3 separate regions of the Homo sapiens genome follow, and regions 1 and 3 are each linked to region 2. Evidence: promoter capture Hi-C in human tissues and cell types (Jung and others, 2019). All regions are on one chromosome and are shown on one strand. Each heading gives the region's core, a stretch centred on a gene start or on the middle of the fragment in contact. The rest is flanking DNA. Distances are from core to core; before and after follow the strand shown. Region 1 overlaps TAB1 (TGF-beta activated kinase 1 (MAP3K7) binding protein 1). Region 2 holds the start of GTPBP1 (GTP binding protein 1). Region 3 overlaps MIEF1 (mitochondrial elongation factor 1).

Evidence for each region. Contacts are between HindIII fragments. The study calls those that stand out against the background at their distance.
Region 1: a fragment that was not itself captured here is called in contact with the fragment with the promoter of GTPBP1 in region 2 in 1 of the 25 tissues and cell types used here (dorsolateral prefrontal cortex).
Region 3: a contact is called between a fragment that was not itself captured here and the fragment with the promoter of GTPBP1 in region 2, in 1 of the 25 tissues and cell types used here (dorsolateral prefrontal cortex).

Annotation. Positions count from the first base shown.
Region 1 is chr22:39,404,934-39,408,114 of GRCh38, forward strand. All of the region lies in intron 1 of TAB1 (TGF-beta activated kinase 1 (MAP3K7) binding protein 1), which reads left to right. Among named protein-coding and RNA genes, the nearest start is that of TAB1, 6.7 kb to the left of the region's middle. The HindIII fragment of the contact is 6,290 bases long and covers 1-3,181 here.
Region 2 is chr22:38,704,694-38,708,368 of GRCh38, forward strand. It overlaps GTPBP1 (GTP binding protein 1), which reads left to right and starts at 1,251. Exons shown (of 12, transcript NM_004286.5): 1 at 1,251-1,454. The coding sequence starts at 1,263. RefSeq lists enhancers at 9-694, 695-1,380, 930-1,079, 1,381-2,066 and silencers at 700-849, 1,170-1,579, 1,760-1,899. The HindIII fragment of the contact is 4,768 bases long and covers 1-2,272 here.
Region 3 is chr22:39,508,180-39,511,662 of GRCh38, forward strand. It overlaps MIEF1 (mitochondrial elongation factor 1), which reads left to right. Exons shown (of 6, transcript NM_019008.6): 3 at 3,109-3,259. The coding sequence starts at 3,116. Among named protein-coding and RNA genes, the nearest start is that of MIURF, 5.7 kb to the left of the region's middle. RefSeq lists an enhancer at 2,397-2,922. The HindIII fragment of the contact is 6,788 bases long and covers 1-3,483 here.

The DNA.
Region 1 (3,181 bases), core at 25-2,524, 700 kb after region 2:
GCATTGGGGCCTTGGAAGCTTTTTGGAGAGAAAGGTCTGCTGCTCCCCTGCTCCGAGCCCTCTTCCTGGGGTTGTGAGTCTCCCTTTCTGAGCTTCCTTTTTGCTTCTAAGGAATGTGGGTGCTTTTACCACAAAAACACTTGGCCTTTTCATAGCATAATTTGGTATTCAAGCTGTGGCCTGAGCTTGGAACCATTCTTTGTCCATTTCTGCTGCCCAGGACTTTGAGATGAGTCTGTGTGGGTACTTTGTGAACTATTATGTGACATGGACACATATATACATGAGGAGTGAATGCTTACATCATGCACAGGGTGTTTGTAAAGGCCTTGTTGGGTTAAATACTGTTGGATCACTGTAGAAGCTTTTCATACCGAAACATTAATTTTGGAAACTCCTTCACAAAATCAAATCAAAATTAGGTCTTTTGAAACAGGCTTCTTAACGTATTCTTGTGAAATTTCTCATGAGCAGTTCATTTCTCAGACATGGAAGAGTTAAGTCCTGCGTTCGCTGTTGTGTGTGTTGCAGTGGCTCCGCGATGAGGCTGTGCTGAGTGAGAGACGCCCCCTTCTCAGCTTCTCGCAGACTCTTGCTCCCTGCGCTCCAGCGCCGCTCACGGCTGGTGCTGGCAGGCCTGGCATTTGGGGGCGTGGGAGAAAGTATGCATCAGTGTGTGCAGGGGTGGAGGGGTGGGTGGTTTGTGTGAATAGAAAGTACATGACCTTTCTGAAAATTGTTCAGAAATGTGGAGGAAGGAAGCGAGAGACTTGGCAGTCCTGTAGGCTTTAATGGAATCAGCAATGGACGCTCGGTATGGCTAATCCTCGATGGAGATGGAAAGGGACGGGAGAACACGATCCAAGCCTACTCAGCTGCAGCAGCGTGAGTCCGCTGGGGAACACGGAGAAGACCAGATACTCTCACTCCCACTTGGTAGAACCTCCTGAGGTTCTCCGGCCACTGTAGTGAACCAGTGTCTGGCGAGCGCCCGAATTACGTGAGAAACTGCCCATGTGTCATTGGATCTAAGACACCAATGTTTTAAGGACACGTCAGTGTTTTGTCTATTGCTCAGAAAGAGAACTCACAGCTAATTAACTTGTAACATACCAACTCCAGAGACGTTAACATGTGGAAAATGTAGGTCTTCAAATCAGTGAAATAAGGTAATCTAATTAACAATACCAGGCTATAGCACAATGGTTGCCACAGGGCCACTTTGGGAGGCCAAGGCGTGTGGATCACAAGGTCAGGAGTTCAAGACCAGCCTGGCCAAGATGGTGAAACCACGTCTCTACTAAAAATACAAAAAATTAGCCGGGCATGGTGGCACGCACCTGTAATCCCAGCTACTCCAGAGGCTGAGGCAGAGAATTGCTTAAACCTGGAGGGGCAGAGCTTGCAGTGAGCCAAGATCGCGCCACTGCACTCCAGCCTGGGCGACAGAGTGAGACTGTCACCAAAAAAAAAAAAAAAAAAAAAGGAATCATTTGAGTGAAAGATAGTTTCTTGAAGATGGTCAGTGGATGATTGAGGTTTGGGAATCATGGGCCTCTGGCCCTAGTTGGATTTGAGCAGTGCCTTTAGGGTAGATAGGACTTAAAAAGACAGAAAGGGACAGGCTTTGCCTTACCATGGGTACTTTTACATATGCTCTTTGGGTAATTTTTTTCTTACTCTTTCTTTATTTTTTTTTAATTTATTTTTTATTTTTGAGACGGAGTCTTGCTGTGTCGCCCAGGCTGGAGTGCAGTGGCGCCATCTCGGCTCACTGCAAGCTCTGCCTCCCGGGTTCACACCATTCTCCTGCCTCCGCCTCTGGAGTAGCTGGGACTACAGGCACCCACCACCACGCCCACCTAATTTTTTTGTATTTTTAGTAGAGACGGGGTTTCACCGTGTTAGCCAGGATGGTCTCAATCTCTTGACCTCATGATCTGCCCGCCTTGGCCTCCCAAAGTGCTGGGATTACAGGCGTGAGCCACTGCGCCCGGCCTCTGGTCACAGTTTTTTAGAGATTGTTTGGAACAGTGAGTAGAAGGCCTTGTCTGTACAAGATACACAGCTGAGTGAGATTGTTAATCTGTCAAAGGGCAAAATTCAAAACTTTCGACAGTCTGGAAGGCTGGGATGAATGCATTAAGATGTAATTCGACTGATATAAATTTAGATTTAAAACAACCTTCTATAGTAGTTTGGCTGGGGGAGACAGACATGGTAGAAACTCACAGGAAAAGGACTTTGTTATTTTACATTACATAGAGGCTAGATGCTCATCTTCTCTTGGGTATATGAAAGCTGTTGATTTGCATACTTTGATTTTCTATCCTGCCGCCTAACTGATTTCTTTTTCTGTTTGCATTAGTTTTTCATTGATTCTTTAGGGTTGCCAGGCGTACTGTCCTATCAACTGCAAATAGAAATGACTTCTTTCCCGGTTTTTATGCTCTCATTCTTTACTCTGTCTAACTGCCTGGGCTAACACCTCCAGTTCTGTGTGAAGTAATAGAGTGGGCAGCCTTGCTATGGCCCTGATCATTTGTTGTTGTTTTGTTTTTTTTTTTTGAGAGGGAGCCTCACTCTGTCTCCCAGGCTGGAGTGCAGTGGCGTGATCTCGGCTCACTGCACGCTCTGCCTCCCGGGTTCCAGCGATTCTCCTTCCTCAGCTTCCCGATAGTAGATGGGACTACAGGCGTCTGCCACCACGCCCGGCTAATTTTTTGTATTTTTAGTAGAGACGGGGTTTTGCTGTGTTAGCCAGGATGGTCTCGATCTCCTGACCTCGTGATTCGCCGGTCTCGGCCTCCTAAAGTGCTCAGATTGCAGGTGTGAGCCACCGTGCCCAGCCTAATTTTTTGTATTTTTAGTAGAGACGGGTTTTCACCATGTTAGCCAGGATGGTCTCAATCTCTTGACCTCGTGATCTGCCCGCCTCAGCCTCCCAAGGTGCTGGGATTACAGATGTGGGCCACCATGCCCAGCCCTATGGCCCTGATCTTAATGAAGTGTTCCCCACTGAGTAAGTTGCCAGCATTAGGGCTGAAGTATACAGAGTAGCATGTTCAGAAAGGAGCCATCAGTTTCTGTTTTCTGGAGTGTTTTTACCAAGAATGGACCAAGACTCCTTAGATAAACAATAGCACTAGTGTCCATACTTACTGACCCAAACACCATTTGC
Region 2 (3,675 bases), core at 1-2,500:
GATTCCCAGCTGTGTTTGTGCAAATAAGACTTGATAGTAGTGGAAAACAGGGACAAGAAGAGACTGTCTCTTTCTTCTCAGGTAGATCCCCAAAACTGAAAGCCATTTTCAATCCTGCCACTTGCTCACTAAAGATTTAGGGTTTAGGTCCAAACCCTAAGTCTTGGATTCCTTATCTTCTCAAACATGCTCTTGTTTGCTTGATGCCTGGTTCGAGTGGCCAAGGCCGACATTCATAGACGTTGGTTAATCCCTAATTTCGCCAAACAATGACGGCCTAGGCTTTTCCGGCTTTTGAAACAGGAATTCAAGACACTAAAACGTGTGTTGATGGCATTTTGGGTTGGGGCTTTTCACAACTGATGACACTGGAAAAATAATCCATAGGAAACTACCTTATGAGACCCTAGATTTCGGTTTAGCAGTTCACCACAAAAGTGGTGAGGTGTTTTTTGGCTTTTAATTTTAGCTGCTTGCCTCTGTTTTTAGTTCGTGTGATTGCCTCCGCAAAGGCAGTGAATGGAGAATTCTCCCTAAGGTCAGCATTTAATTATTGCCTCACTCTGGCTGCTATAGTATTACAACTCTTGGAACTTACAGCATCGATCCTACTATTAAAGTTGCCTGGAGCATGCCAGCACGTTGGACATCGGCGTTCCAGCAACTGCCTCAGTCACTGAATCGAGTGGGAGGCTCATTTTGCAGTTTACTATCTCCATGAGCAGGTCCAGGCGCGGGACCTGTTCTATGACTCGATTGGGTCCTGCCCTTGTCCGTCATCGGAAGGCTTACAGCGCCTACTGTTTTGCAGTAAGATTTGCAGGCTTAGTACCGCCTCTGGAAACAAGGAGAGTGAAGGGGCGTTGACGAGTAACGTTGTTTGTATTTCTCTCCTCATTGGATGGCTGCTGTGTCAGTCAGACACTTCTCTGCTTCCGTTGGCGGGAAGGCTTCAGGCGGGTAGCGGGGACTCGGTACTGCCCCCTCCCAAGCTGGGAGCAGGGCGCGTGACGTCTCAGACATTTGTTGTTGGGATTTGGGCCTCATTAATTATTCATTAGGTACTTGAAAGCTCTGCAGGGATTGGTGGCTGAGAGGCCTAGTCGACTGTTTCTTAGCTAGAGGTACGTGTCACCCAGTACGCGGCTGGAGTTTTGCATAAATTATTCCGATAAGGAGCGGGGCGGGGCTCTGTGCATAGATTAGTCAAATGAGCCTGGGAGGGAGGGAAGCCGGCTACGAATTAGCCTAAGTTATTAAAGATGGCGACGGAGCGCAGTCGCTCCGCGATGGACTCGCCGGTCCCGGCCTCTATGTTCGCCCCCGAGCCCAGCTCCCCGGGGGCGGCCAGGGCCGCGGCGGCCGCCGCCCGACTCCACGGCGGCTTTGACTCGGACTGCAGCGAGGACGGCGAGGCGCTCAACGGCGAGCCAGAGCTGGACCTCACCAGCAAGGTAGGCCCGGGCGGCGGCGGCGGGCGCTGAGGGGAGCGGGCGGCTGGCCGAGCAGTCTCCCGGGCGACGGCGGGGCCAGCGGCCGCCCTGTCCGCGGGGAGCGCGGAACGGGAAGAAGGGGCCGAGCCCGCCCACCTGCTAGTCTCCGGGACGTGCGGGGGTTCGCGGCGCGAGGGGCCGTCCCCATGGTCCCCGCACCCACCTTGGCTCCCCCGCGTCGCCAACCCAGCCTCCCGCCCTCCCGTCTCCCGCCGAGATCGTAACCCCTCGGCTCTGCCACGTGGAACGGGGGCGCCCGATGCCAGCTGCGCTCCGCGCGTTCCCTGTCCCCGCTCAGTGCCCCTCCCCGTTCTTCGGGTCCCCACTTGAGGGGATTCGGAGACCGAGAGTCTCCTCTCCCTGGACCGCGCGGGACAGCAGAGGGGCGAGGGGGCCCGGGCAGGGGGCCGAGACGCTCATGAAGACAGGTAGTCGGAGGCCAGGGCAGGGTGGCCGCCGCGTCTCTTCCCAGACTCGGGAAAGGAAACAGAAAGTAGTCGCTCAGCTGGGGAGGAGCATGTCCGAGAATGTCTACTTTTCGAGGCCACCCGAAACAAAATGGAAAGATGGTCAGGCTCCTTAGTCTCGCTATCCTGTGAGTGGAAGCTCATCTTGTATGAGTGGAGCAGTGAAGGACGTTTAAAACCGTGTTTTTTGAGCTGTCGAGAAGGTAGGCAGGAATTAAGGCCTCGCCAACGGCTTGACATTGTGAAGAATAGAAAAGTAAATACAAGATGTGACTGGTGTTTTGAAGGTGCTTAACGTTCCTTAGGGAAAGAATGCCAACTTGGGAGTCAGACAGGGCTGGGTTCCCTTTCCTGCCCTACCATCGAAAGGCTCTGTGACGTTGGGAAAGTTTCTTAACCTTTCAGTTCTCCAACCACCTCATCTTAAGAAAGTACAGATGGGTTGTAAAAATTAGAAATATTTAAGAAGACACCTAATAGTGCCTGATGCATACTAGAGACTCAGTAAATGTTTGAAGTGAACGAGATAGTTCCTAATTTCCTGTGCAGATTAAATAGCAGTGGGTGAAAGATAGAACACCAATACCACCACTTACATTTGTAGGATAGTTACGATAGACATTTTATCCAGCTTTGAAAATGTTTGTGACTTTTTATAGTTTATGGCGGCAAATTTGCATGAAACTTGGTCCTAAACTGGGGAGGAACTTTCCCTGCAACCTAAGCAAGTTATTTTCAACTGCTCTTTGCCATTGTAGTCTCAGGTGAGCACTTGGAAGCCAGCTAGCCTGTCAAAGTTGGTCCTGTCTTGTGCCTGTAAGGCCATAATGAGGATGGCCAAACTTAGAGAGAGGGATGGCCAGGACGATGTAAAAGACCCAGGAAACATCCAGGTTACAATTACAAGCTCTGATGAGTCAACTCAGGAAGTTACAAGATTATGGACCTGACTCAAGAGCAAACAAACTGGATGTCAACACATGGTCAAGGTGCTGAAGAAACATGATAGGAAATTGCAGGGCAGAGTTGCAAAGACGGTAGTACCTTCATTTCTTGACCAGCTCATTTAATATTCCTAGAAGTGTTATTTCATCACATAGCTGGGGAAGTCCTCCTTACAATTAAAAAAAATCATATGTATATTAATATCGATGATATCAAAAAGAAAAAGTGATGGTGTGGAGGGAGAGAAGGGTTGGGTTGAATAGATTGATTCCGGAGGAACAGATTAGAAGCGAAAGGTTCATGTCCTTACGATAGAAAATGTGGAGACCTAAGGCTCCGAGAGCTTCCAAAGGGAGAAACACTTAGTGAATAGTGGTGGCTAGTTTCATCCAACAAGGTTTTTCTGGGAATGATTGGGTGAAGAAAACCTTGTAGTTTCACATTTATTGAGCTGTGGACTAGATGCTTTACATGTTATTATATTTGCTCTTTACAGTGGCCTTAGGATGCAGGTAGTATTAGCTCCGTTTTATAGATTGAAAAACTGAAACTCAGAGTGGTTAAATTCTTTGTCCAAGGTCACACAGGAGTGGTTAGAGAATGGGGTCTGATTGCCAAATGGCTTACCCAAGTAAATGGTTGACACTTCAATGTTATTGGCAGACATTTGCAAAATGACGGTGCTAATACTCCTCGTAGTGGTAATGGTGATGGTGCTTTGTTGATGAAGATGAGTCTTGCAGGCAGTTTTCATTCCCAAATATTCAATA
Region 3 (3,483 bases), core at 217-2,716, 800 kb after region 2:
TCCCCTTTTCGTAGCTGAGGTGTTAAGTAACTCATTTGAGGTCACCCAGCTAATAAGTCAGGGCTCAAGGCAAGTTCTGTATCTCAGGATTTCTGACTCTAAAACCCACGCTCTGTTCTGTCATCTGTAGCACCACCTTGCTCTCACCAGTCATCAGAAGGGCACCAAGGACTAAAATGGTCCAGGGAGGCTGCTTCTGCCCTGAGTGAGGAGGTGCCCTTCTGGCCCTGCTGCATCACACTCAAGGATCATTTAGAGGGCACATGTGTCCAGTGGCTCTCCCTATTGTAAATATTTCAGTAAAGAGTTAAAACAAGAGACATTGTTATGTGTGGGGAAATGTATAGTGTTCTGCTTTTCTCCTGATTGGGTTATCTTGCCTCTGCTAAGTTTGGTTTGTCCCGTCTCTATCTCAGTGGCCACTGGAGAGAGGGTGTCTGCTGTTCTTCCCTGATTCCACCTGTAAATACAAACGTTATCTCTTCTCCCTGGCTTTGCTCTGTGCATTTGAGGTGGGAATGTACTCGGTTTGGCGAAATAGTCTTTCATGTCCCTAAACCTGAAGCCTCTATTGACTGTAAATGGTAGAGAAAAGGAAAGTACCCCCAAGGTGTGAACTCTAGTTAGGGAAAAAAATATTTTTGGGCTTGACAGTGACTCTTAGTTAACTCAATTACTGGAATAATAGAGTCAGAAATATTTCTTTGTTTTTCAGGGAGGTAGAGGCAGGAGCGTAAGATGTGGAAGCTAGAAATATCCACTTGTAACACGGTATTAGAAGGAATGTTATTTTACATGGAAGATAATCCTCAGTGATCCTTTTTTTTTTTTCTTCAAGACGGAGTCTTGCTCTGTCACCCAGGCTGGAGTGCAATGGTGATTCTCCTGCCTTGGCCTCCCGAGTAGCTGGGATTACAGGCATGCACCATCATGCCTGGCTAATTTTTTGTATTTTTAGTAGAGATGGGGTTTCACTATGTTGGCCAGGCTGGTCTTGAACTTCCGACCTCGTGATCCACCCACCTTGGCCTCCCAAAGTGCTGGGATTACAGGTGTGAGCCACCGCGCCCGGCTGATCCTGTCTCTTGATGTCCTCCCATTCTGGGACGCTAAATGGTATCCGACTTTGTTTTCCCTTATGTCATTCCTGGTGTGAAGGACACGGGATATTATAGAGGAGAGTGGCAGCATGCTGAGTGGTATTCCGATCTGAATCACACTGTCATCCTTTATCCGGCTCAGGCCCAGGGTTCTAACTCCACAGGAATGGGCTTATCTGGGGACTGCTGCTGCTGCAGTCAGGAAGACTCCACTGTAGTCGGGAGCAGCACTGGCCTGAGCACTGCACTGGAGGCCAGCCTCTTCGCTGTGGTGCCCAAGTACTTCTTTCAGGTGAACACATTTTTAGTTCCTCTTCCAGGTGTAATCGAGCAGATGGGTGTTTTGTTTTCCAGTTAGCAGTCGAGTCTGCAGTGTCCTTTGTGTTTTTTATCTCCCGGTATACCAGTCTCACCTAAGCTTTTATAGTCCCCGCTGCGCACTTCTCTCAAGAAACAAAGCATTTGTCAAGTAGGAGGGTCCATGGAGGGACCTTTCTCACATATGGACGTGTAGTTTCAGTTCCGTGTGCAGGATGTTTGGTACATGTTGTTTTGTGTTTTGTTTGCAGAAAGTAGATAGAATAAGGGCCGATTTGATTTGGGTAAGGGTGAGCATGGTACAGTAGAAAAAGCGTCATACAAGGAGTGGGGAGTCCTGAGTTCTGGAGATGACTGTGTCGTTTTGTTTTCGTTTTTGAGACGGAGTTTAGCTCTTGTTACCCAGGCTAGAGTGCAATCGTGTGATCTCGGCTCACTGCAACCTCCGCCTTCCGGGTTCAAGGGATTCTCCTGTCTCAGCCTCCTGAGAAGCTGGGATTACAGGCATGCGCTGTCACATCTGGCTAATTTTATATTTTTAGTAGTGACGGGGTTTCTCCATGTTGGCCAGGCTTGTCTTGAACTCCTGATCTCAGGTGATCCGCCTGCCTCGGCCTCCCAAAGTGCTGGGATTACAGGCGTGAGTCACCGTGCCCGGCCCATTTTGTTTTTTTATTTTTATTTTTAAGAGATGGGGTCTCACTCTGTCACTGAGGCTAGAGTGCAGTGGCGTGATCATAGCTCACTGTAGCCTCAAACTCCTGGGCTCAAGCATTCCTCCTGCCTCAGCCTCCTAAGTAGATAGGACTACAGGCATGTGCCACCATGCTCAATTTATTTTTATCTTTTACTTTTGGAGATGGGGGTCTTGCCATGTTGCTCAGGTTGGTCTTGAACTTCTGGCCACAAGCGATCTTCCCACCTCAGCCTCCCGGGTAGCTAGGATTATAGGCATGAGCCACTGCGCCTGTACCATTTCTTTTCTCTGAGACCTGACACATCACCTCCCTATGTTGAGAACCTCTGTGTGAGGTGATGTGATGGCATTAGATGAGCTCCAAGGTCCCGCTCAGATCTAACCTTCCACAAAGTAGTGGCCAAAGGACGAAGAAATGACCTGCATTATAACCCCTGTGATGGGGTAGAGAGACCTGCTTTATAACCTCTGTGAAGGGGTAGAGAGACCTGCATTATAACCCCTGTGAAGGGGTAGAGACCTGCATTATAACCCCTGTGAAGGGGTAGAGACCTGCTTTATAACCCCTGTGAAGGGGTAGAGACCTGCATTATAACCCCTGTGAAGGGGTAGAGACCTGCATTATAACATTGTGAAGGGGTAGAGACCTGCATTTTAACATTGTAAAGGGGCAGAGAGAGGGCTGTTTTGCATGGTGGGGTACTTCATTGTAATACAAAAAAGGACTGACACTGAGCTTAATGCTTTCTTAATCTCACTAGCTTGGGGAAAGTTTTCCTACAATACCCAAGATCAGCCCCTCCTCCTTGCATCCTGATCTATCATGGGACATTGTAGCTCCCTCCAGACCCTAAAGCATGCAGTGCTGGAGGCAAGAAGATTTGGGTTGCTGGAACTCACAGAGTACCCTGTACTTGTTGGGGTTTGGCTTGTTAGGGGAGGGAGGTTCTTGGGGTCCCAGTACTTATGGCCGTGTTCTGTCTTCATTCTCAGATGAGCAATGGCAGGCGCTGGTGAGCGCAAAGGCAAGAAGGATGACAATGGCATTGGCACGGCCATTGACTTTGTGCTCTCCAATGCCCGGCTGGTGCTGGGGGTGGGTGGAGCGGCCATGCTGGGCATCGCCACGCTGGCAGTTAAGCGGGTAAGTGCATGCAGCCAGGGCTGGGGGTGGAATGTAGTGGTATGGTCATAAGATGTAATGTTTTATAGAAAGAAAATGTCGAAGCGTTCTAGGAGGAAATGATCGCAATGATAAGTGAAAAAAACAGGTTTCAAAAGTATGTATAGAGTGATCGTCATTACATGCATCTAGAAAGAAACATACCAGATATTACAAACAGTTTTCTCTGGGTCATGACGTGGATT